Regions from separate parts of the Homo sapiens genome. Here regions 1, 3 and 4 are each linked to region 2. Evidence: promoter capture Hi-C in human tissues and cell types (Jung and others, 2019). All regions are on one chromosome and are shown on one strand. Each heading gives the region's core, a stretch centred on a gene start or on the middle of the fragment in contact. The rest is flanking DNA. Distances are from core to core; before and after follow the strand shown. Region 1 has its middle 3.5 kb from the start of SUN2. Region 2 holds the start of TAB1 (TGF-beta activated kinase 1 (MAP3K7) binding protein 1). Region 3 overlaps TNRC6B (trinucleotide repeat containing adaptor 6B). Region 4 holds the start of CBX6 (chromobox 6).

Region 1 (2,922 bases), core at 11-2,510, 640 kb before region 2:
CACAGTGAGCCAAGATCAAGCCACCACACTCCAGCCTGGGTGACAGAGCAAGACTCTGTTTCAAAACAAACAAAAAACCAAAGAGAGGCAGAGAAGACGAGCAGAGGGCAATGTGACCATGGAGGAAGAGATTGGAGTGATGAAGCCACAAGCCAAGGAATCAGAATAATAATAAGTGTCCTGTGTGCCACACCAATGAGCTCTGTGGCCTTGGACAAGTCAATGGGGCTCTCTGGCCTTCATTTTCTCTTGCATGAGGGTCACATGGGCAAAGGACTTCTGAACTACTTCATCCCAAAGGGGTTTTATCACCATGATCTTTGCGGGGAGACGGGAGGAGGTTGGGCCCTTGGTTTGTCCTGGACCCATCATCTGTCAGGTGGGCTTCTCTGTGCTGCCAGAGAGCAGGGCCTCCCCTCTAACACCCCACGTGATGGTGGAATGTGCTGTGTGCCTGTCTGCCTCCCCCATGGACACTGGACAGTGACAGGTCGTGGTGGGTGTTCAGCGTCCTATGAACACGAGTTAAGGAAGAGCCTCCAGTCACCTGCCTGCAACCCAGGCCAGCTCCACATCTCCCTCCCTGCTGTCAGCATCAGTCAGCAGCCAGGGTGTCGGCGTCTGTCATTTAACCATCACAGGCAGGCCTTGGCGGGGGCGGGGGACTTTCATGTCAGGCATTCTGGCTGCAGGAACTCGCTTGGCAGCTGTCAGAGGGCGGTAACCTCAGGGGAGCTTGGCGACCGACCCTCCCTCCAACTCCCGGGGGCTGTTTCTCTGCACCCTTGGGGATCTGATGTGGGCTCCCTATTCCACCCCACCCAGTCTGGTGACAAAGGCTGCGTATTTACAGAATCTTTCATCCTAAGAGCTCAAAGAGCTCCATCACCAGGTGACAACCGCAGTTAAACTCATTTTATGGAAGAAGGCTACTCTGAGGAGTGCAGGCGTGGGATCCAGGTTACAAAGTGGGTCAGCTAGGGTGCCAGGAACACAACGTGGGTCCCTGACTGAGGGGGACAGTCTTAGGCATGCAGAGATTTGGCCAGACTCTTATGGGTGACTGTGCCTTAGTCACCTCTGTCCCCCACACCTATTACAGTACCTGGCTCCTAATAAATGCTCAATAAACGTTCATCGAGCGACTGCCTGACTGCAGCTTCCCAGTCTTAAATCACCAGCTCCCCAGTGTGGTTGCAGACGCAGATCTCCTGCAGGCCTCACCTGCACTCCTGGGGCCTCACCCCAAGGCCTCTCCTACTCCTGAGCCCTTACTCAGGCTGTGCCTCAGCCTGGAACGCCTTTCCTTGTTTCTCTGCCTGATGACATTCTAATCTTTTGGCCGGGTGCAGTGATGAATGCCTGGAATCCCAGCACTTTGGGAGGCCAAGGCAGGCAGATCCCCTGAGGTCAGGAGTTCGAAACCAGCCTGGCCAATATGGTGAAACCCTGTCTCTACTAAAAATACAAAAAAATTAGCTGGGCATGGTAGTATATGCCTATAATCCCAGCTACTTGGGAGGCTGAGGCAAGAGAATTGCTTGAACCCGGCAGGCAGAGGTTGCAGTCAGCTGGCACTCGGTAGGTGTAAGCTCCAATTAGCCGTCATTGTCACCAACACCCTGAGCACAGTAGCTGGCTGAGTGTGTGCTGCCCACATGGAGGAAGGCCTGAGCTGGCTGTACACTCACAAGGGAGGCTGGGGCAGCGCTGGAGCTCCCGAGGGCACCGATCCATGGGCCAGAACTCAGGGGCTGACATAGCCTGCTTGCCCCATGTCCAGGGTGTTCCTCCTGGACTCAGCCTCTTCATACATCCACCAGGTGCTCCACCTTCTGTGGGGACATTCTGGGCCAGTGGTCCAGAGAGCAGGCTTGGAATGCAGACACTCCTGGTGAACGACGTGGGCAGGTTTAACCTTTCATTGTCTTGATGTCCTCATCTGTAAAACGGGGATGATATCAATGTGTCTGTGTCATGGGAGCTCAGTACAGTGCCTGGCCCTGGGCAAGGATTGCTAACTGTCACTAACTAGCAATCAAGGCTATTTTTTTTTTATTTATAAGCATTTATTTATTTAGCAAATACTTACCGCTTGCCTGTTCTGACAATGTAAGACATGCCCCTGCCCTCCCGGGGCCCACTGTCTGGTGGAGAAGGCAGTCATGTGAGCCGATCATCACAACACTTCAGACTCGTGCCCAGGAGGGACACAGGGCTCAAAGGGACCCAGTGTGACTTTCATGGGCCCCCTCCTCCAGAAAAAGTATTAAGTATTGTGTTTTGCAACTATGTCAGTATCCACAAGCCGGCTAGGTTATATCCATTTTTTTCCCTTCTGATTAAACAAATAATTAAAACATTTATGTCGGCCCCTGAAAATTCATGGCCCTGGCCCTGGGCCTGCTGTGCCTAGTGGAGAGTTGGTCTGGCCCTGACTCTCGTAACCAGACTTGGGGAGTCAGAGAAGCTGCTGGAGAAAGAGACCTCTGGAGAAAGAAAGGGCAAGAGGAGGAGCCGGGGACAGAGGGGACAAGAGTACCAGGCAGAGGGGATAGCAGCGAGAGCGCTCAGCTCACTGGTGGGGAAGCTGCCAGATGAACCAGGCCCCCTGCGTGGAGACAGCTGGCAGAGCCGCCTCTGGCCATCCAGCCCTGTCACTGCAACCTCCAGCTCTGTCCCTTGGGCTAGCTGGAACGCCATAGCACAACCCGAGTGCCCCCGACCCCAGTAAAAACTCCCCGGTCTACCCACCTCTCCCTCCTGCAGGGCTGCAGCCCCCAACCCCTGCTCTGGTCTTGGCTTTTTTGTCTGTAGAGCAGGGGGAGTAATTGTCCTGCTCCCTTCCCTGCCAGGTGTCTGTGGAGGCAGAGGAGGTGGGAGGACCCTCTAGGCCTTCAGTTCTCACAGCAGTGTTGCTGT
Region 2 (3,092 bases), core at 507-3,006:
TAATTTTATAAAAAGCAGGCAGGTGCCAGGTGCAATGGCTCACGCCTGTAATCTCGGCACTTTGGGAGGCGAAGGCAGGTGGATCACCTGAGGTCGGGAGTTCAAGACCAGCCTGACCAACATGGAGAAACCCCATCGCTACTAAAAATACAAAATTAGCCAGACGTGGTGGCGCATGCCTGTAATCCCAGCTACTTGGGAGGTTGAGGCAGGAGAATCGCTTGAACCTGGGAGTCAAACATCTCTCTACCAATGGGACCCTGTCAATGGCTTGCTTAGAAGGCAACAACTTCCCTCTGTCCTCCAGATGAATAAACTCCTGCCTGGGGCCCACTTGGTCAGAGCCTGTCCCTACAACCCCTTCATCTCTCTCCTCCAACTCTGTGCAAGCCACAGTGGGCTCCCGTGACAAGTGTGCTTTTTTTTTTTTTTTTTTTAAGACAGAGTCTCACTCTGTTGCCCAGGTTGGAGTGCAGTGGAGTGATCTCAGCTCACTCACTGCAACCTCCACCTCCCAGGTTCGTGATTCTCCTGCTTCAGCCTCCCAAGTAGCTGGGATTACAGGCGTGCACCACCATGCCTGGCTAATTTTTTGTAGTTTTAGTAGAGATGGGGTTTCACCATGTTGGCTGGACTGATCTCGAACTCCTGACCTCAGGTGATCCACCGGCCTCGGCCTCCCAAAGTGCTGGGATTACAGGCATGAGCCACCGCGCCTGCCCCCGGCAGAATGTCTTATATACATAAATGTTGTCCTCTCCAATTAAAATGTTAACATTTTAGGTTGGGCGGGGTGGCTCACACTTGTAATCCCAGCACTTTGGGAGGCCCAGGCAGAAGAATCGTTTTAGGCCAGGAGTTTGAGACCAGCCTGGCCAACATAGCGGTACTCCGTCTCTACAAAAAATGTAAAAGATTAGCTGGGCGTGGTGGCGGGCGCCTGTAACCCCAGCTACTCGGGAGGCTGAGGCAGGAGAATCGCTTCAACCCGGGAGGCAGAGGTTGCAGTGAGTCCAGATCACGCCACTGCATTCCAGCCTGGGCGACAGAGCAAGCCTCCGTCTCAAAAATAACATAACATAACATAACATAAAATAATAATAAAATGAAATGAAATAAAATAAAATAAAATGTTAGCTTTTTGAAGGCCTGTCCTGCTCGCTGCAGAACCCACTATAGAGCCAAGCAGGGTCACCTAGGTAGCATTTGCTGAGTGAATGAATTGTCCTCCCCTTACCAACTGTGTTCACAAAGAACCCTCAGGAGTTCAAGACCAGCCTGGCCAACATGGCGAAACCCCGTTTCTACTAAAAATACAAAAATTAGCCGGGCGTGGTGGCTCATGCCTGTAGTCCCGGCTACTCCGGAGGCTGGGGCAGGAGAGGCGGGCACCTGTAATCCCAGCTACTCGGGAAGCTGAGGAAGGAGAATCGCTTGAGGCCGGAAGGCAGAGGTTGCAGGGAGCTGTGATCGCGCCACTGCACTCCAGCCTGGGTGACAGAGTGAGACCCTATCTCAAAAAATAATAAAGATGGGCGAGGAGCAATCGGCCCCGAGGAAAAGACAAAACAAAACAACAACAACAACAACAACAACAAAACGTGCAAGAGCGCGCCTGCGCACACGGTCCGCTACGACCCCCATCCCTCTTCGGGCGTGGGGTGGCGCTGGGCGCATGCTCCCCGGCAGCGCGGTCATCCTCGCCTCCTTCGGGCCGCTCTAGCCGCCCCACTCGCTGCTCTGCGGGGAGGCGGGCGCTCCCGCAGGGGTTCCTCCAAGATGGCGGCGCAGAGGAGGAGCTTGCTGCAGAGTGTGAGGAACAGGCCCGCTCTCTGGGCTTGGGGTTGGGAGCCTGGGCGGGGGTGCTGTCGGGTGCAGGAACGGCTCCTTCTCCGAGTTTGGACAGCCACCCTCTCCGTGGTGGGGTGTGTCAGCCACCTTCTCCTCTCCTCGGGCTGGCCCCCTCGTTCCCGAGGCCAGGGCGTGTGTGCGCGGCGGGCCCGGCCCCCGGGTCAAGGGCGCCGGGGCTGTGGGCTGCTGCTGCCGGGCGTCGAGGGCGGGAGCGTCCTGGAGCCAGAAGGGAACACGGCGGGCGGCAGCAGAGCTATCCGAGTCTCGAGCCCACTGCGACACCGAGCAGACGTGCAATGATAATAACAGCAGCATCCACAGTGTACCGCTTACTGCATCCCCGGCGTTGTGTTAATTGCTTTACATTTGTCAGTTTCATTTTCGTAGCAGCCCCCTGAGATAGGTGCTACTGTTATTCCTATTTGACAGACTGAGACACTGAGGTGGTCGTTTGCCTAAGGCCACACAAATGGTACGTATTGAGGCAGGATTAAAATCAGGCAGTGTGATTCCAGAAACCCCCTTAACCCCTGGGCTGTACTAAAGGAATGACCAGTGGTAGCTGTCACTGGGTTCTGGTCCTGGCTCTGACTGTGTCTCCCTCAGCCTCAGTTTCCTTCTCCTAAGGCGAGAGCGCTGAGTGGAAGAATTGTCTTCAGACTCATCCCTACCCCCGGTCTGGACCCTCATGGGTTTGGCGCTGTCTTCCAGGCCCTGCGTCCTCTGACGCGTATGTGCACATAGATGCACACACATGTTGGCACCATGGACTACTCTGACCTACCAGGGTAGGGTGCTGGCCTCCTGGGTCCTTCCTATGCATGGCACTGTTAGAATTGTCTATGGACTTGTCTGCCTCCTGTACTAGAAAGTAAACTCCGCCGGGCGCGGTGGCTCATGCCTGTAATCCCAGAACTATGGGAGGCTGAGGCGGGTGGATCACGAGGTCAGGAGATCAAGACCATCCTGGCCAACATGGTGAAACCCCGTCTTTACTAAAAATACAAAAATTAGCCGAGCGTGGTGGGGGCGCCTGTAGTCCCAACTATTCGGGAGGCTGAGGCAGGAGAATTAGCTTGAACACAGGAGGCGGAGCTTGCAGCGAGCCAAGATCGGGCCACTGCACTCCAGCCTGGAGCGACAGAGCGAGACTGTGTCTCAAAAAAAAAAAAAAAAAAAAAACGAAAGTAAACTCCTTGAGGACAGGGACCTGTGATCTCTTGTTTACCGCTGTGTCTCTA
Region 3 (2,957 bases), core at 368-2,867, 910 kb after region 2:
AGCCCATCCAGGAGGCTGGTGAAATGCCCACGTGGAGCTCTCTGCCTGCCATCCCTAAGCATTATCATTTGGTTTCATGGCATGAAGTCAAAAATGATTTATTGAAATTGTAAAATCTGTTTGTGGACTGAATAATCTAAGCCCACTGATATCTACAGCTTTGGGCACTTTCAATGCTTCCTTAGGCTGATGATTCACCAGGTCCCCTTGTCCCCAAAGACATGATAGGTGCATGATAATAAATCTGAAATGGCATGTGAGAGGATATCTCAAAGGCAAAATCTCTACTTGCCTTTTTAGAGCTTATAGATCATGTTTTCCCATTTCCTTAGCAATCCCCAAAGTAATTGAGCTTGTCATTTTCCACTGCTTCACCATAATGTGCCTCTGAGCCAGATTTGTCAGTGGCTCCAGAAAAGTAAATGCCCTCTTAGCCTGAGTATGGAGGTAGTTTTGATAATATTCCCATTAGGCTGCATCACCCTGGAAATAATTTTATCCCTTCACAAGCAGCATCCTAAGAATAGATCAAGTGACCCAATATAGTATGTAAAATTCATTTGAGAAATAAGTAGACTGGTATCTCACTGATACCTAAAATTTTATTCAAAGTGCATGTTCTGTTAGTTCAAGGTAATTTTAAGCTTTTAATTATTTTCCTGCCCCATAGCATATAAAATGCATGATGGGGGCAGCGACAAAACCACTGAAGTGCTCTCAGGAAACCAGTTACAAAGGATTTGCTGTTCTTCATGTGTGAGGCCACGGATCCCAGAGCTGCAGAGTTCATTGCTGGTCTTGTGCTGGCAAAGACCCTAGGCGGGAATTCCATCTCATTGCGTTGGAATTTAAAGCAATTGCAGATGCTTTTCCCTCCAATGGACTCTCTGTTTACACTGCTGCTTCCAGCTAATCTAAGCCTGATCAGCCAGCCCTTAAGAACCTGGGTGGATAGCATCAGTAGAAATTTAGTTAAAACCTTCTTATGTGCTACAAATGGTTAGAATTTTCCCCATTTCTCACTCTTGAGTCGTTAGCATAGAAACTAGGGATAATGGTCAGATTCCTAGTATGTGAACGTTTCATTAATTTCATAAGACCATGGAATTTTAAAACTGAAAGGAACATTCAAGCATGAGAACAATCCTGTGTGCCTAAGTGAGGAACTGAGAGGCTCAGAGAGGCGAAATGACTTGTTGTTGGTCATGCTGCTTAGTAATTCTGTGCTGAGTCTCGAATGCAACCTCTTATTCCAGTGCTGTTTGTATATACTCCATCAGCTTCAGAAGACTGTTTGCATTCCAGCGAATAAAAAATAGACAAGTTCTATTCATAGGAGTTATTCTGGATGATTTAATTTCCTCTCTTTTCTCAGGCGCTATAGTGGCCCCTGGTAAAACCCGGGGAGGGTCACCGTACAACCAGTTTGATATCATCCCTGGTGACACACTGGGTGGCCATACGGGTCCTGCTGGTGATAGCTGGTTACCTGCCAAATCTCCACCAACAAATAAAATCGGAAGTAAATCCAGCAATGCCAGTTGGCCTCCAGGTATTGTCTAGGAAATGCTTTTCCCAGGATAGCATTTGTTTTGTAATTGTCAGTTTCAGGTTCAGAATACATTGCTTTTGTGATTCATGTTACTAAGGTACTTGCTTTTATTTTTTTCATTCAATAATTGTCTGTTAGAAGCAAGGCATGTGCTGTGGGAAGATAGAAAATTTTCATTAGATGGGGAATCTGGGGATAAGTGACATTGTAGGTGGGACTTTGCATTCGTCCCATGCATAGGATGCCTTGTAACATGGGTTCTTTTGAAGTGTCTGTTGAATTGATTTGTTAGTTCTTAGGCAAGTGTGTATTACCAGTTAGCTTCTAGGTATGCAGTAGCGATTGCAATGAGATTATTTGTTAATTCTTTTCTTTCTGTCCCTCCCTTTTGTTGGATATAGTAATCTATTCTCATGATAGAAAAATGAGAACATTTAATAAAGCAAAAATTAAAATCAGTAATTCCATAAATATATATCCTCCTAGACCTCTTTCTGTGCATGCGTATTTGTGACATGAATATGTATAGTTTCGTTTTATTAAGGTAGAATTTTTTTTTTTTTTTGAAAGGGAGTTTTGCTCTTATTACCCAGGCTGGAGTGCAGTGGTGCGATCTTGGTTCACTGCAAGCTCTGCCTCCCAGGTTCAAGCGATTCTCCTGCCTCAGCCTCCCAAGTACCTGGGATTACAGGCGCCTGCTACCACGCCTGGCTAATTTTTTGTATGTTTAGTAGAGACAGGGTTTCGCCATGTTGGACAGGCTGTTCTCAAACTCCTGACCTCAGGTGATCTGCCCGCCTCGGCCTCCCAAAGTGCCGGGATTACAGGCGTGAGCCACCACGCCCGGCCAAAGTAGAACTGTATAATGCAGATCGTTCATATATAATACACATTGCTCTTTCTCATCACGATTTGGAAAATAAAAGTTTATTGTGTCACATAGCCTTAAAATTTTAAAATGATTTAAATTGACCAATAAAAAAATTCCGAGCCCTTATGTATATTCTAGGCTTTCTTTTGCTAAGCTAAATTATCCCTGCTGGTTATCCCTGGACATTCTGTGTAGCAGTATCATTTGTATTACATTTTTTGCATTTTGGCCAACATCTCGTAAGGAAAATGAGAAAGAGCACTGATCTCTAGCCCATATTTTCACCGGTTCTTGGCCTAGATGCTGGGATGATTCTTGTGAACACCAGAGTCCTTACTCCTGCTTTCCCTGCCTTCAGCCCTGAAGTCTCCTGGGAGCAGGAGGATCAGGTTACTGGGGACAGGCTCTGATGAGCTGTGGCTTCCAGTTGACTGCCACAGACAGTGTGATAAAACAAAGGTGCTGTTGGCAAGAGTATGTTCATGGTGATTTTTTTTTCCTTAATTTTGTGATGAAAATCTAAGAGACAATAAA
Region 4 (3,236 bases), core at 6-2,505, 530 kb before region 2:
ATTTGAGGTCAAATTCAAGTTGGATCCCCAAGAAAGGAGGGGAGCCATGAAGAACAAATCCTGAAAGACTGAACGGGGGAAGCTGGGGGCAGGGAGGCAGGTGGTCCCCCAAATCCTCTCCTTGTGCCCTGCCAGGAGGTGGGACCCCACTCACTCTCCCCCTGGGTTCCAACTCCCAGCACAGTCATAACAGCTCAAACAAATGCCCCCTTCCCATGGGCATCCCCCACCTGCCTCAGCCACCCCCTTTCCTGGAGCCCTAAAGGCATCCCCAGCCCCTGGTTTCAACAGGGAGGATTATCCCCAGTCCCAAAACCCTCTTGTTGAAGCTGATGCTGGCTGAGGCCTGCCATCAGGGGCTTCTGGGGGGGCTCACAACCACCCCCTGCCCAGCTGGGGCCCCTCTGAAAAGGCCGGCCCGCTTGGGCGGCCGCGTATCTGTCCCTCCCTTCCAGGCCCCGTGCTGTGCCGGGGCTGGGGGCCCGAGAGGGGGATGCTGCTGGGGCTGGGCCAGGTTACCTTCAGGAGGAAAGTTTTGGGTTTGGGTCCCCTCTTCTTGGGCCCATACAGCTCACGCTCCCTCTCCCTGCGGCCGAAAAACACCAGAGGTTAAAAAGAGCCCCTTCCCGGGCCCCACTCCGCGCTGCCCTCCCCGGCTCTCCCGCTTCCCCGCGCGGCGCCCCAGCCGAGCCTCGGCCTCGCAGCCCCTGCCAGCTTCCCCAACAACTCACTTTTGTTCGAAGGCTGCAATGAGCCGCGAGTCCAGGATGTTCTCCTCGGGCTCCCAAGTGCTGTACCTGCCGAGTCACAAACGCACAAAATCAGGATGAAGACCAGAGAGGGACAGGCACGCGGCGAGAGCAAGAGCGCGCACCCCCACCCCAGGCCCCGGTGCCCGCTGCCTCCCCTCCCGCGACGCCCCCGGACCCCGCGACACTCACTTGATCGCCCACCCCTTCCATTTCACCAGGTACTCGATGCGTCCCTGAAAAACAGAGGGGAGAAAAACGGGGGTGGGGGTGGGGAGGATGCGGGGACGCGAGGAGGCGGCGGCGCGGGGCTGGGCGAGGGAGCCGGGCTAGCGGGACCGCTTCGCCCCGAGGGCCCCCGGCCCCGGCCCCGGCTGCGGACAGCGGCGGCCCGCCCCGGGCGGCGGCTCACCTTTCGGATCCGCCGTTTGATGATGGATTCGGCCGCGAAGACCCGCTCGCCCACTGCAGACAGCTCCATCTTGCTCAGCGGCACCCACAGCCCATAATACTCCCTGCGCCCGCGGCCGGTGCGGCACCGCTCGCGCACGCGCCGCAGCGCCCAGGCCCCGGCGGGCGGGAGCGCGGCGGGGCGCGCGCTCGCGTTCCAGCTGCGGGCCGTCACGTGATCCTCGCGGCTGGCGCGCGGTTGCCAGGACCTCCCCCTCCCCCGGGGCGGTTGCTAGGGAAAGTCGGCGCTCGCGGGGCGGGGGCGCGCGCTGGCTCTTAAAGGGGCCGCGCGGGCGGAGGGAGCAATTGCCGGCCGACCCGATGGGTGCCCGGCTTGTGGGCACGCTGCGGCCTTACGCTTATCACCCCCCCTCACATCTTGCCGGCGCCCGATCGCTGACACCCTCTCCTTGCCTCTTAATCCCCACGCGAGTCTCGCCAGGCCCCGGGCGGAGAAGGGCTGTGGAGCCCGAGTCTCGCCGCCACCGCGCATCTCCCGCAGCAGCCTGCAAACAGTTAAATATGATGCAGCAGAAATGCAGTTGCTGTTGCCTTGCCAGGCCTTGCGGGAATTTCTTTAAAACATCGCCCCCCACCCATTATTTATGTATTCGTGGGAGGGTGGTTTTGTAACCAGTTCAGAAGAGTTAAAACAAAAACGCCACCGCAGGAAGGGGGTGTGCGGCGAATGGGGCCGAGGAAGGCCGGAGTGACCGTGGGCATCTGTCTGCGGCCGGGGTCTCGGGCGGCACCTGTCCTCGCCCAGGAGACCGGGGAGGATTCGGCGGGGCCGGTGTGGCAGTGGGGGAGGGAGAGGGACCGCGGGCAGGAACGGGCTCCCCGCACTCCGCCTTGGGCCCACAGCGGGTCATCATCTGGTCATTCGGCAGAAACCGCCTTCGCGGTCATATCTGTGTTTTCCGATTCCCAGCACCCCTCCCGGCCCCCCGACCTGGCCGCGTCCCTCTCCCCGCCCGCAGCTGCGCGAAGCTTCCGCCATTGCTCTGGGGAGCCCAGATCCCAGCTTCCCACTTGAGGAGGGGCGGGGGATCGAGCTGGGGCTGTCCAGGAACGGACACACAAAAAATAGCCCTGCCGCGCAAAACGCTCCACTTTTTAAATGTTGAAATTACTTGAACTTTATTTCCCATTATGTTAGTAGTCTTGTTCTTTGTAAAACAATTTTAAAAATACAGATAAAACAACTGTCCATAACCCCCATAAAACCATTGTTAACATCTTCACCAATCTTCCAGCCTCTGCTCTATGCGTACATAAACTCACGTACACCTATGTATGTATGTATATACATACACATACACATTGTCTGTAGATTTAATTTTTTAACAAAATGGGATCACGCTATTCACACTGTTCTGGAATCTGCTTTTCTCCCTTAATGCTATAAAGTGGACATCTTTCAGTGTCATTAAATACAGATTTCACCATCCTTCCAGTGACCACCTTGGGGCTGAGATGGGGTGGGGAGGAATGGGGATTGTGAAGAGTCAGGGTTGTGTCTTGCGAACATCAATGGCTCATTAGGAAAGATTTTTGCGTTTCTGTGCTACAATGCCAATTCTTGGGTTTCAAATCCACCATAGCAAAATGTTAGTCTTTTTCTCCCAGCAGATTTGTCCAATTATTACCTTGAGAGAAATCCCTCTCCTCACTTAAAATCAGTATGTTCCAGGGAAACAGCTATTTGCTGGCCAGCCCAAGGTGAGCTGCTGTGGTAAAAATAGAAATGTCCTCCTGGGAGATGTGGGTGGTGGTGGGTGAGCAGGTGAGAGGAGTGGGTATGACAGTGTGTGTGTGTTCAGGCTGACGGAGACAGGCGGGGGATGAAGCAGGTGAGTCCACTTGTTGATTCATTCAGCAGTGTTTGTGAGCCCTTGTGAAGCACCAGGCTTTGTGTGAAACCATCAGGAAACAAAGGTGCCCCAGGCTGAGGAGCTGTCAGTGGAGTGAGAACGGCACCTGTCACACAGTGTGACTAATGCTAGAATAAAGGTGTAGGAGTTTCGTGTTGCTGCT

Evidence for each region. Contacts are between HindIII fragments. The study calls those that stand out against the background at their distance.
Region 1: a fragment that was not itself captured here is called in contact with the fragment with the promoter of TAB1 in region 2 in 1 of the 25 tissues and cell types used here (dorsolateral prefrontal cortex).
Region 3: a contact is called between a fragment that was not itself captured here and the fragment with the promoter of TAB1 in region 2, in 1 of the 25 tissues and cell types used here (bladder).
Region 4: a contact is called between the fragment with the promoter of CBX6 here and the fragment with the promoter of TAB1 in region 2, in 1 of the 25 tissues and cell types used here (hippocampus).

Annotation. Positions count from the first base shown.
Region 1 is chr22:38,758,078-38,760,999 of GRCh38, forward strand. No RefSeq gene overlaps it. Among named protein-coding and RNA genes, the nearest start is that of SUN2, 3.5 kb to the left of the region's middle. RefSeq lists enhancers at 2,139-2,922, 2,794-2,843. The HindIII fragment of the contact is 9,654 bases long and covers 1-2,922 here.
Region 2 is chr22:39,398,024-39,401,115 of GRCh38, forward strand. It overlaps TAB1 (TGF-beta activated kinase 1 (MAP3K7) binding protein 1), which reads left to right and starts at 1,757. Exons shown (of 11, transcript NM_006116.3): 1 at 1,757-1,812. The coding sequence starts at 1,780. RefSeq lists an enhancer at 1,696-1,815 and a silencer at 1,976-2,115. The HindIII fragment of the contact is 8,049 bases long and covers 1-3,092 here.
Region 3 is chr22:40,309,442-40,312,398 of GRCh38, forward strand. TNRC6B (trinucleotide repeat containing adaptor 6B) reads left to right here. Exons shown (of 23, transcript NM_001162501.2): 17 at 1,376-1,552. Among named protein-coding and RNA genes, the nearest start is that of ADSL, 36 kb to the right of the region's middle. The HindIII fragment of the contact is 7,129 bases long and covers 1-2,957 here.
Region 4 is chr22:38,870,961-38,874,196 of GRCh38, forward strand. It overlaps CBX6 (chromobox 6), which reads right to left and starts at 1,256. Exons shown (of 5, transcript NM_014292.5): 1 at 1,162-1,256; 2 at 942-985; 3 at 732-797; 4 at 520-586. The coding sequence starts at 1,230. RefSeq lists silencers at 878-927, 1,028-1,177, 1,208-1,467 and enhancers at 1,462-2,012, 2,013-2,562, 2,399-3,236. The HindIII fragment of the contact is 23,948 bases long and covers 1-3,236 here.